2 separate regions of the Homo sapiens genome follow, and region 2 is linked to region 1. The links are contacts of gene promoters, found by promoter capture Hi-C in human tissues and cell types (Jung and others, 2019). All regions are on one chromosome and are shown on one strand. The core of a region is centred on a gene start or on the middle of the fragment in contact, and the rest is flanking DNA. Distances in the headings are between cores, read along the strand shown.

Region 1 (3,509 bases), core at 789-3,288:
ATATAATCAACATAAAAATGTTTTATAGATTGGACTAAAGACCTTTGAGGTCTCTTCACAGGATCCTATCTGGCGGACCCCCAAATCTGCCAACACAGAGGTCATCCGTAAACATGTGCAGGACAGAGGCCAGACAAAACCATCTCTCTCAGCCTCAAAGTGGCCTGGCAGTCACATGTGGGGTCTGGCCTGTGTGAGGAAGTCAGGCTTTCGGCTCCAGGCACCCTACTGCACCGCAAAACCAAGTTCTGCCTAACAAACAAAAAACAGCCTGCTCACTCTCCCTAATATCCCAGGTGGTAACCTAAGAGCATTATGCTAGACACCCCTCCTCCTCCACCCTCCATGTCCAAGCTATCACCAAGGTCCTAGCAATCTTACCTCCTAAATGTCTCCCAAATCCACTTCTCTCCCTTCAATGTCCAGGCCACCAGCATGACTTCTGCATGTGTGTAGCAGCCTCCGCGCAGGACGTAAAGATGCAAATCTAGTCGTAGGCTCTCTGAAAGGAAAATTTTGGGGACCCAAAATTACTAAGCTAAAGGAAAAGTCAAGCTGGGAACTGCTCAGGGCAAACCTGCCTCCCTTTCTATTCCAAGTCACCTATCTCCTCACTAAGATAGGTGCATATCTGATTCCCTGCTTTGGAGAGGCTAATCAGAAACTCAAAACAATGCAACCTTTGTCTCTCACCTACCTGTGACCTTGGAAGCCCCCTCCCTGCTTCCAGTTGTCCCCACCTTTCTGGATGGAAGCAACGTACTTCTTACATATATTGATTGATGTCTCATGTCTCCCTAAAACCAAGCTGTGCCCTGACCACCTTGGGCACATGTCGTCAAGACCTCCTGAGGCTGTGTCACGGGTGCACGTCTTTCTAAATTACCTGAAACCATCTCAGATAGGGTTCACACATCCCTTTCCCGAACCCTCCCAGGAGCCCCTCGTGGGCGCCCAGGTCCTGCCTGCTGTTGTGGCCCAGGCTCACCTGGAGCAACTCGACTCTTCGTTACAGCCTCGTGAACCTTTCAGTTCCTAAAGCTGTCTAGCCTGTGAAAGGAAAATGAATCTGGGGGCCCCAAAATCACTAAGCTAAAGGGAAAAAAGCTGGGAACTGCTTAGGGCAAACCTGCCTCCCCATCTATTCAAAGTCACCCCTCTGCTCACTGAGATAGGTTAATATGTGATAGCCTCCTTTGCGGAGGCTATTCAGAAACCCGAAAGAATACAACAGTTTGTCTCTCACCTACCTGTGACCTGGAAGCCCCCTCCCTGCTTCGAGTTGTCCCGCCTTTCCCGAGGGAACCAACGTTCATCTTACATATATTGATGTCTCCTGTCTCCCTAAAATGTATAAAAGCAAGCTGTGTCCCGACCACCTTTGGCACATGTCAAGACCTCCTGAGGCTGTGTCACGGGCGTGCGTCCTCAACCTTGGCAAAATAAACTTTCTAAATTGACTGAGACCGTCTCACATATTCGAGGTTCACAAGCCCATGCATGGGGACGTCCCCTGGGGTAGCGCCCCTCCTCCACTGAGCTCACTCGCTTCCTCCTTGTGTGTTTTCTTCAGAAGAAATTTCACAGCTACTTGGTCCACACCTGTCTGCCCCACAGGAACCTCTCTTCTCCACAGGCACATGGGCGGCGTACCTGCTGGGCTGTGTGGAGAGGACCGGGTTCCTCTCCTGATTCCTGCTCAGTTAATAACGAATGTCGACAAGTCGAGAAAATTGCTCAAATTTACCCCATCAAAGAATTAAAAACTGGTGAAAGCTTGACCTGCGCCCCCCACCCCTGACGTGCTCACCGCTCCACTCCCTCTAGGCGGGCGGCACCCGCTGAAGCCTCAGTACCACACCCACAGCCAGGAGCCCCAGTCCCGCACTCGGCCGCATGCGCACTCCCTGCGGCCCTCCCGCCAGGCGCCGCGCTGGGCAGCCAGCGCCCCGGCGGGGTCCTTCAGGCCTTCGGCCGGGCAGCCTCCCTCGGGGTCCTTGCGCGGTTGCGTAGCAGCTGCGAGGACGCGGGGCGAGCCGGAAGTGGAGTGCGCTGCGGTGCGAGCTGGGCCGGCGGGGTGGTTCGAGAGCGCGCAGAGTCCAGACTGGCGGCAGGGCCCGAGGGGCCGACCCGCAGCGTCCCTGGTCTCTCCAGCCCTCACTCGGAACCGCACGTGAGGGCAAATCCGCCCCGGTGGCTGGCTTAGCACGCGGGGACAGCCCCTCCGAGGCCTCCCTAGCGGTGTGGGCGAGAGGGCGTCCGGGTCGGGGGAAGCACGGAAAGGTGGCTTCGCGAGGCTGTTGTGGGGGGCGGGACGGGCAGCCTGGCGATGCCTGGACATGGTTGGTGGCCAAAAACATTTATCGAAAGATAGCATACCCACTTAGATGGCGAGGACATCGACAAGCAAGTCTTCGCCCGTAAGCGGTGGCTCACGCCTATAGTCCAGGGATGCCGAGGAGGGAGGATCGCTTGAGTCCAGGAGTTGGAGGCTGCAGTGAGCCGTGATCGCGCCACTGCACTCCAGCCTGGGCGACAGAGTGAGACCCTATCTCTAAACAAAAGAAAGAACGTCTTCAAGCATGGAGCCATGAAGCTGGATTTGGCTTTCTGTCGCTCTCTCTACAGGGTACAGGTGAAAGGGGGCAGACCCCTCATCATGCTTTCCAGGCATCTGCCACTTCCCAGGAATTGTCTCCCTGGATAAACAAGGCGAAGTCCCTGGCTGTGCAGAAGCAGTAGCTGTGTGGTGGCACAGTCAGGAAAACTCGGGGGCCCTGTTGGTATTTTCTACCCCTGACCCGTGTGCATACTTCTGTCGTAGCTCTCACCACAGTAGACTCTGCTATCATTGTGTCTTCCATCCTCTGAACCCTGTGCAAGGTCTGCTCATGGTGAATGCCCAGTAAGGCTCACCTATTGCTGCTATCTCATCATCATATCATTTCTATGTGCCCCCCTAGCTAAGAGTCTGGACTGTGGTTACATTCTCAGGAATGTCTGCAAAGTCATATTTAGGTGTGAGGAGAGTAAAACAGAGCTAGACATAATGTTGCACACAGCCTTTGGCACTGGATGCCTGGTGAATGTCTTGTGCAAATGGGTAACGTGAGGAGCAGCATTTGGGGTGCGCAGGACTTAACTATTTGTGTATAACATATTACTGATGCCTGTGTGTCATCCTCTGCTACTCCAAGTCTAGTAGCCAATTGCATACCATATCTCAGTCTGGCACTGAGGGAAGCAGTCTGGATGGAGGTACAGCTGGAGATTTGGTTGAGGGGACTTATCTCTGACAACAGCCTCTTGTTGATCTTCCCAGACAGTGACAATACCCTCCCCTCCCTTGGGCTGGACCCCTCTCTACAGCTAGGAGCCAATGGCAGAAGACAAAACCAAACCGAGTGAGTTGGACCAAGGGAAGTATGATGCTGATGACAACGTGAAGATCATCTGCCTGGGAGACAGCGCAGTGGGCAAATCCAAGTATGTTGGGAGATTAGGGAATA
Region 2 (3,603 bases), core at 518-3,017, 76 kb after region 1:
TGTTTGTTTGTTTTACTAAGCCATATTATCTTGTCTAGAAACTTGCCATGGCTCCAAGCCATCTAAAGATTTAAATGCAAAAGACTCAGATTGGCTTTCAAGGCTTTTGGTAAATTGTTTTATATATTTTTTGTCCTTTCCTGTAAGAGGATTATATTTCCCCTTTCCCAGGGATGGCAGGCATGGCCAAGTGACTTGCTTTGGCCAATGAAACGTGAACAGCTGTAACATGTGCCACAGTCAAGCGGACACTACGAAAACCATTGAACAGTTCTCCCATATTTTCTTTCCCTTGGCCAGAATTGATGATAACCCAGATCGAAGCTGCTTCTGCAGCCTGACCCCAGAACAAAGGAGCCATGGAGCAGAGCTACAGATACCCACAAGGGAAATGTAATGTAAGAGAGAAATAAGCTTGTAGTATTGCTGTGATTTGGAGAGTCCTTTGTTACTGCAGTTTAACTGCCTAAGCCGACTGATACACAGTATTTCACAATTTGCTTTTCTAACTCTATTTCCCATTATTCCCTAACACTTATTCCAACTCCTGCCAGACTGAACTACTTGCTTTTCCCCAAAGACCAACAAATTTCTCCAACTCGATGCAGTTATTTGCTTCCTATCTCCTGCCTGCCAACAATACCTCTCAAAGTTTAATTTCAACCTTCAAGTTCATCTCAAGCGCTACTTTCTCTGTGCAGGGGTGTCTGATCTTTTGGCTTCCTGGGCCACACATAAGATACACTAACACTAATGATGACTGGTGAGCTAAAAAAAAAAAAAAAAAATCTCATAATGTCTAAAGAGAGTTTATGAATTTGTGTTGGCCCACATGCAGCCTGCGGTACACAAGCTAGACAAGCTTGGTAAAAAGCCCTTCCCCATTCCTTTGATGCCAACTACTGTAACCTATGTTTATTGTTTTTACATATTTTCTTATCACCTCCGCCAAGAAAAAAATCATAAACTCCTTGACATTAAAGACTATCTTATTGGCCAAGTGCAGTCTCTCACACCTGTAATCCCAGCACTTTGGGAGGCCGAGACAGGCGGGATCACTTGAACTCAGGAGTTCGAGACCAGCCTGGCCAACATGGTGAAACTATGTCTACTAAAAATACAAAAATTAACCAAGAATGGTAATGTGCTTCTGTAATCTAAGCTACTTGGGAGGCTGAAGCAGGAGAATCACTTGAAACCCAGGAAGTGGAGGTTGCAGTTAGCCGAGATCACACCACTGCACTCCAGCCTGGGAGACAGAGCAAGACTCTGTCTCAAAAAAAAAAAAAGACTATCTTACTCACCACTGTATTCCTTGAAGCTTTGCAAATAGTAGGTATCCACTCAAATATTTATCAAATTAGCACATTCAATTAGAGAACTGCTGTTTAATATGTTTACTTTTTTACAGGAAGATTTTAAAGAACATTTAACATACTCATTGGGGAAGCAAAATTAAGATACAAGAAGAATTAAAAATCATAGCAAATAGCAAAGATTCCTACTGAGTAAAATATGGGCCAGGCACGGTGGCTCACATCTGTAATCCTAGCACTTTGGGAAGCTAAGGCAGGCAGATTGCTTGAGGCCAGGAGTTCGAGACCAGCCTAGGCAAAATAGCAAGACCTCATTGCTACTAAAAATCAAAAAACTTAGCCAGGCTTGTTGGTGTGCACCTGTAGTCCCAGCAACTTGAGAGGCTGAGGTGGGAGAATCACTTGAGCCCTGGTAGTGGAGGTTGCAATGAGCCAAGATCATGCCACTGTACTCCAGCCTGGGTGACAGAGCAAGACCCCATCTCAAAAAAATAAATAAATAAAAATAAAGTATAACTCAAAGTTTAATGAATCTCTTTCTCTCTCTCTCTCTCTCTCTCTGTAAAAATAAGCATGTCTTGACCTTCATCTCTCTCCCTGGATATACTCAACAGATCTTAAAGTAAAACTTCACCAAAGGGAAACAATGTGTCACACGACTCACGAGTTACAACCCCTATTGTTACAGTCCATATGCTAAAAGCAAGGATTTTTCTAATTATGGAACAAATTAGCTTATGTAAATTCTTAGGCGTAGGAAAAATGTATTTCCCTGCTTATGATTAAAAGCCAACAAAATATAATTCCAATTTTAAAACAAATCCCCTTACCAAACCCCAACAGCAAAGTGCTGCCCCTACAAACCTCACAGCAAATAGAGAGTCCTTATTCTCAGTGACTAGCAGCTGCCTCTTTTCTCACTCCTCTCCAGCTTCAATTAACCTAATGCCCTCTGAGACATTTTGGCAGTAATTGCAAAGCTTCTTCCGGTTTGGGAATCTAATTTAATTAGATTGGCGAGACTTGATTTTAGATGTTTCTCCTCAATACCAATTCAAAACTTAATACTTACTTTGCTTTTGTTTCCTGGTAATAACTGGTTTACGGCCCTGAGAAGAAAAACTGGGGCCAATAAAACAAGCTGGATTAGCCTGGTTCTTCACTGACTCCACAATTGGCCTACCATTTGTGCAAAGTCCACTCCAGGAGAAAAATGCTTTGAAGGTGGGACTCTAACATCCTAATGTGTCCGGACTCAGTGGGTTCTCGGTCTCACTGACTTCCAGAATGAAGCCGTGGCTCCTCGCGGTGAGTGTTACAGTTCTTAAAGGCGGCATGTCCGGAGTTGGTTCCTTCTGATGTTCGGAGTTTCTTCCTTCTGGTGGGTTCGTGGTCTCGCCGGCTCAGGAGTGAAGCTGCGGACCTTCACCGTGAGTGTTACAGCTCATAAAGGCAGTGTGGACCCAAAGAGTGAGCAGCAGCAAGATTTATTGCAAAAAGCGAAAGAACAAAGCTCCCACAGCTCGGTAAGGGAACCCCAGCGAGTCGCCACTGGGGGCTCGGGCAGCCCGCTTTTATTCTCTTATCTGGCCCCACCCACATCCTCTGATTGGTCCATTTTACAGAGAGCGAGTGGTCTGTTTTGACAGGGCGCTGATTGGTGCGTTTACAATCCCTGAGCTAGACACAAAGGTTCTCCAAGTCCCCACCAGAGTCAGGAGCCCAGCCGGCTTCACCCAGCGGATCCCGCACAGGGGCCACAGGTGGAGCTGCCCGCCAGTCCCGCGCCCTGCGCCCGCACTCCTCAGCCCTTGGGTAGTTGATGGGACTGGGCACCGCGGAGCAGGGGGCGCTCTGGCCACACAGGAGCCCACGGAGCTGGGAAGGCTCAGGCATGGCGGGCTGCAGGTCCCGAGCCCTGCCCCGCGGGGAGGCAGCTAAGGCCCGGCGAGAAATCGAGCGCAGCGCCGGTGGGCCGGCACTGCTGGGGGACCCGGCACACCCTCCGCAGCCGCTGGCCCGGGTGCTAAGCCCCTCATTGCCCGGGGCCGGCAGGGCCTGCCGGCCGCTCCGAGTGCGGGGCCCGCCGAGCCCACACCCACCCAGAACTCGCGCTGGCCCGCAAGCACCGCGCGCAGCCCCTGTTCCCGCCCTCGCCTCTCCCTCCACACCTCCCCGCAAGCTGGGGGAGCCGCCTCCGGCCTCGGCCAGCCCAGGAAGGGGCTCCCACAGTGCAGCGGCGGGCTGAAGGGCTCCTCAAGTGCCGTCAAACTGGGAAACCAGGCAG

The links. Contacts are between HindIII fragments. The study calls those that stand out against the background at their distance.
Region 2: a fragment that was not itself captured here is called in contact with the fragment with the promoter of RABL2A in region 1 in 2 of the 25 tissues and cell types used here (mesenchymal stem cells and spleen).

Annotation. Positions count from the first base shown.
Region 1 is chr2:113,625,228-113,628,736 of GRCh38, forward strand. RABL2A (RAB, member of RAS oncogene family like 2A) reads left to right here and starts at 2,039. Exons shown (of 9, transcript NM_001306158.2): 1 at 2,039-2,173; 2 at 3,327-3,486. The coding sequence starts at 3,380. It also overlaps the pseudogene RPL23AP7. RefSeq lists a silencer at 1,799-2,108. The HindIII fragment of the contact is 9,827 bases long and covers 410-3,509 here.
Region 2 is chr2:113,701,309-113,704,911 of GRCh38, forward strand. It overlaps LINC02936 (long intergenic non-protein coding RNA 2936), which reads right to left and starts at 2,866. Exons shown (of 3, transcript NR_186169.1): 1 at 2,389-2,866. It also overlaps a transcript of SLC35F5 not described here. The HindIII fragment of the contact is 3,230 bases long and covers 153-3,382 here.